2 separate regions of the Homo sapiens genome follow, and region 2 is linked to region 1. The links are contacts of gene promoters, found by promoter capture Hi-C in blood cells and fetal thymus (Javierre and others, 2016). All regions are on one chromosome and are shown on one strand. Each heading gives the region's core, a stretch centred on a gene start or on the middle of the fragment in contact. The rest is flanking DNA. Distances are from core to core; before and after follow the strand shown.

The links. The method cuts DNA at HindIII sites, captures the fragments that hold promoters and counts their contacts. A CHiCAGO score of 5 or more calls a contact.
Region 2: the fragment with the promoter of RPL22L1 here is called in contact with the fragment with the promoter of ECT2 in region 1 in 2 of 17 cell types (naive CD8 T cells and non-activated CD4 T cells); the score reaches 6.6 in naive CD8 T cells.

Annotation. Positions count from the first base shown.
Region 1 is chr3:172,749,323-172,752,022 of GRCh38, forward strand. It overlaps ECT2 (epithelial cell transforming 2), which reads left to right and starts at 1,404. Exons shown (of 25, transcript NM_001258315.2): 1 at 1,404-1,535. RefSeq lists enhancers at 940-1,209, 1,310-1,359, 1,380-1,639 and a silencer at 1,750-1,819. The HindIII fragment of the contact is 5,304 bases long and covers 1,058-2,700 here.
Region 2 is chr3:170,868,915-170,871,614 of GRCh38, forward strand. RPL22L1 (ribosomal protein L22 like 1) reads right to left here and starts at 1,281. Exons shown (of 4, transcript NM_001099645.2): 1 at 1,245-1,281. The coding sequence starts at 1,253. RefSeq lists enhancers at 774-823, 993-1,719, 1,720-2,445. The HindIII fragment of the contact is 15,380 bases long and covers 1-2,700 here.

The DNA of each region.
Region 1 (2,700 bases), core at 154-2,653:
AATTCATGGCAATGATACCATACACAGTTAATCATTAGCTTTGGAAAGTCTGTTGAGCAGAAAGCGGTGCACAAAGGAAGTAGGGCTGCTTCCCACAATAGCTTAATATGTTTTCAGTGATGAACGTTTTTGGAATGCTGGGCACACCCGACTTCCAAATACGCAAGCACATTCCAAATGGAAATTTCAATTACTGTTTTTCTTTTTTTCTGCCGTAACAGTTATCACAGCATTTTAATGAAGGTCAGACTTAAATACTGACAAGCAGGGAAACCAATAATTACCAGATTGCTTCATTCATTTTGTGGACAGCATTATAAACTTTTCAGGCATTCTAAGATTGCCTGACAAAATTAGAAAAAATTGTTAAGTCCCCACAACCTGCTTGAGATGCTCACAAGTGTTCCATCCCAAAGTACACGTTTGCCTCTTCTTATTGGTATTTAGGTTCTGGCATCTGATTCCCCTTTCTTCTTCTATTTATATTAGCCTTCAGGTGGGAACTATGGAAAACCCACCTGGTGGGGGTGTATTTTTCTTAAGAGATTGTGTTATATGGTATCATATTTAGAAAATAAAGAAATTATTTTCATAATAGCAACGCTAATCACAGGAAAAACTTGATACATTCTTGACTAGACTTTAGGGGAAAGTACAAGTTCTTAGTGGGCGGAGGGGGGCAAAGACGAAGCAATTTGGCTCCAAAAATTCTAGAATCTCGTGGCATATTTTTATCAAATTCAAGCTTATCTTTAAAAAAATCCGAGAATTTTTCTAATTTCTAAGAATTGATTCTAACCCGCGATACTCCCTAGATGGGAGCGCAGTGCTTTAAATAATAGCATTTAAATAAGCGGCTGCTGATTTGAAGTCCACCTGGGGAGTCCGAGTTCTAGGACCGGTCCTTGGCCCTGCCACACGCCAATACAACCATCAAAGTCAAAATCCCTTAACTCAAATTTAAATACATTCCTAAAGCAGAAAGCATCCCGATAGGAAAATCCTACAGCTCACAGCAAGCAGCAGGGAAACATTTATCTCTGGCGGCACTGATTTAAGCTTAAAAGATTTGGTATCGTTTAAAAAAAAAAAAAAGCTGGGTGGGGCCGAGGAGAATCCACCCAAACTTTCCTCAGGAAGTAGGATGTTTACTGAGTAAATATGCGGTAGTCACAGAAACACCTGCTACTCCTTTAAGACCTCAGGAGCCACCACCGCCACCTCCTGGCCACATCCGGGCACTTCTCTGCAAACTCCTGGCGTCCCGACGCCCGAGTCGTTGGGCTTATTTGAAACACACGCACAACCAATCAAGCGGCGCCTGCCGGGACTTGGAGAGCGTCGACCAATCACCGCCCCTCTGGAGACTCCTGCCTATGGGAAAGAGGTTGACATCACGCGCCAATCGGCATGGCTCTTAGAGAGAGCAGCTTAGTTTTTGAATCGGTTGTGGCGGCCGCCGGCGAGGAATGGCGGTATTTGTGAGAGGAGTCGGCGTTTGAAGAGGTGGAACTCCTAGGGCTTTTTTGAGAGTGGTAAGGACTCTGTGTGAGTGAGAGAGGTGCAAGTGGGCGAGCGGCTCCAGAGCCAAGGGCTCTTTTGCCTGCGGTCGACGTCCCCGCCCCTAGTGACCGCGAATTCCGGAGCGCCCCAGCTCAGGCTTCCCGGATCCGGGAACTCCCTCGCCGCACCCCACCCCCAGCAGCCGGGCCCTGACGCGGAGTGGGAGACCGAAGCCCCCAGTATTGCTGGGCATCTTCGCCCTCACCTGTTGGCTCTTTTGGACAGAAGAGTGTGGGTGAAGGGAGGGAGTTGGGAAAGGGATTTTGGCAAGCCGCGCAGCCCTGTGGCTTTGGGGGCCGGCACTTGCAGCCTTTGGGGGCTTATCTCAGAGTGCGCCGTGGTTTTATTCTAGGATTCATCCTGGCTTCTTTGCGGGAAGTTTAATTTTTCGTTTTTGCAAGATAAATCCAGGCCATCCGCCCCTCGTCCTCCCCAGCCACCCGGCACAGATGTGTCCGGCTTAGTGGTTAAAGGCGCAGCCTCTGGATTTAGCCGGGCTTTGAATACCTCTTTTACCCCTTACTAACAGTTTGACTTAGGGGAAGTTGCTTAACCTCTCTGTTCCTACGTTTCTTCATCCATACATTGAAAATAATAATAGTACCTGCCTCTTAGGATTACTGCAGAGATTAAAAGGTTTAGGACAATGTCTGCCACGTATTAAGCGTTAAGTAAATGTCAGTTGTTAATAGTAATGTTATTGTTAATAACACCACCATTATATCTTGGATTGCATTTTAGTCCTTCACCTTGGAAGATGATTGCCTAAAAAGTATTTAAGTAAAAGGAAACTTGAATGTTTGTTTACATGGCAAATTTTATCTCTGGGATAAAAGGGGGCATGTGTTATAGTGTGTTTAGTTAGAAGCTCCTTGGGTCTGTTCTTGGGTGAGAAGCTGTGTAGGTTTATGAACACTGATCCTATTGTGCTTATTTTAAAGGCTTCTGGAATACAGTAATTTGAAAAAAAGTGATTAATATATTTCCATTTCTAATCTGACTGTTGGATGTTAGTTATGTCATCAAGTTACCGTAGTGCATCTCTTTTTCTCTATACATTTTGAAGCTGTTTTGGCAATAAATTGATCATATACAGTATCATCAGGGGCAATTTTAATTATTAATCATCTGCTTTCG
Region 2 (2,700 bases), core at 31-2,530, 1.9 Mb before region 1:
GTTCAAGGCCAGCCTGGCCAACATGGTGAAACCCCATCTCTAGTAAAAATACAAAAATTAGCCAGGTGTGGTGGTGCATGCTTATAATCCTAGCTATTCAGGAGGCTGAGTCGGGAGGATTGCTTGAACCCGGGAGGCGGAGGTTGTAGTGAGCCTGATCATGCCACTATACTCCCACCTGGGCAACAGACTCTGTCTCAAAAAAAAAAAAAAACCTAAAAACCAACACCGTGGAACTTAAATTTTCCATATCCAAACCTTTTATACCAAGACCATATAATATGGCTACATAAGCAAAATGTTACTGTGGCCAGCAACCATGTACATTCACTGCAATATGAACAAACAAATCTGTATTTATCAGACTATAACCTCCAATTTAGATTCACCCAAGTGGCTACCAAGTATTACACATTAGTTTGCTTTCTCAGGTAGCATGGTAACATGTGCCAAAAGATAATTACCCAGTTGGCGCAGAAGTTAATTTGGGAGACACAAACAACTTCTGTCTAATGGAACAGATAACCCTATAGGGTTTATGGCCATGCTGGGCATTACCCAGTTTTGTAGCTAGCCCAGCAATTTTATCCTAACTTTATTTGTAAATTGCGCATGTATATCTAGCTTTTCAGATATTCTTAGGAACATTTTAACATCTTACTGGTTCCCTTACTAATGACTTAAGTAAAACATCTGAAGCACGTTTATTTCACATTGCTGGAATCTAGACTTATACTTTTCTAAAAATTACTTCACCGAGAAACTTCTTCCCCAACTGAAAGTTCTCAAAAACTTGTGATGTCGGCCATCGCGGGAGCTGAGCGCCTAGGAGCTCCCTCTGGCCTGGCAAAGGTCGTCAGACCGGCCCGATTACCCACCATTCCCCTACCCAGTGCTGAGTGGCAAAAGCATTATCAGGCGCGAGATAGTAAAGAAATGGCTCAGATTGCAGTACCACCGGCCCATTTACAGTTGTGCCTCCCTCTTTCCCGCGTGTCCAAAACCACCCATCCTAAACCAATTCCGGGCCCAGCTCCAACTCCACTAGACCTCATGGCAGCTGCCAGGGAGTCTCGAAAAACAGTTCAGGATCCTCGCGTCTTGGTTGTGTTTCTGACCCAGACTTCACTACTCCCCTCCCTTTATCTTGACTGAGACGTCTCCACTCGACAGATGCAAAAATCGTTACAGCGGAAATCATTAAATTGCCACACAACACTCCCACCAAGACATCGCTCACTCACCGGCGCCATCTTGCGAGTCGGCCGCGAGAGCAGAGAGGAAGCTACGGCCGCGCGGTCTGCATTTATATCAAAGCGTGCTGCGTCACGCGCTGAGAGCGTCAGATTGTCGCCTCCCGGAAAAGAAAGCGGGAGGAGCGCTGAGGCCGGTAACCCAGGAAACCAGTGCGCTGCCGGACGAGAGTAGGCCATCGGCTTTCCGCGGGCACACGCGGGTGGCTGTGGTTGAACTGACTCTCGGGTTTCCGCTCCTGGCTGTTCAAGCCGATTAATTGCAGTGGCCTCTACAGTTACCTAGTGGCTGCTCCCGGATACGGACGCACGCGAGGGATGCAGGAGTCATCTTTCACTAATCACCGGAATCCCCTTTCCAATCAGGGCAAGGCAGTGTCTCAGGTTGCTTTGGGATCTCCTTTTATTGCAGTTATAATCCTCCAGCGAAAAAGTTATTTGTTTGTGTTTTGTCTGTGAGCCTCGTTTTCTAAATGACTGTTGAGGGAAATTGGTGCTTCGGGGACCAGGTCCTCGGGAAAAAAAAATCATGTATATATATGCTTACACGCCCACGCCTGTAATCCCAGCACTTTGGGAGGCCGAGGCCGGAGAATCTCTTGAGCCCAGGAGTTCGAGACCACCCTTGGCAGCGTAGGCATAGGGAGAACCCGTCTCTACAAACAATTTTAAAAAAAATGGCCCGCGTGGTGGTGCGCGTCTGTACTCCCAGCCACTCGGGAGGCTGAGGCAGGAGCATCGCTTTACCTTGAGAGGCGGAAGTTGCAGTGAGTCGAGATCGAGCCACTGCACTCCAGCCTGGGTAACAGTGAGACTGTCTCAAAGGGAAAAACACGTAGTGCTTGCTTCTTGTTCATTCGTTTGGTATAATTTATCATGGGTTTTACAGTTAATCCCAGGTCTCTTGATTTCCATCCAAAATGCTCCCAGTTAAAATTCAATGAATGTTTGCTGTGACCTATCAGTATGTACAAGACACACGAGGGTGGAAGTGTCTTGCTGACAAAAGGAAAAAGTAGCTTTTGAGCTTTGAAGGATTGTAAATTGACATCAGATCCGAAAAGTGGCATGCTGAACCGCTTGGGTTTAGCAGTAATATGTTTTCGTGGAGATGAAATTATCATACCTAGGGGTAGGGGTAAGGGATGGGGTGGACTTTGTTGTTAATTTGAAGAATGACCCCAGAAAGTAAGAACTGTTCGTGGCCTTTATGCCAGCAAGTAGTTATCGTGGAAACTATGCTTTAATAGAGCATATGACTTGTAGAGTCTGAAGAGAGGCCCTGAATTCCTAGAAGAAATCCATTTCAACAAGATTTTTTAGTTGTCTGCCTTAAGAGCTACAATAATCACATTTCTCTTTCCAAACATTAAAGGGAGCAATTGGCATTTCCTCCTCAAGGGCTGCCTAAGCTGAGGGGCAGAAATGATTCTATTTTGCTTGTCTT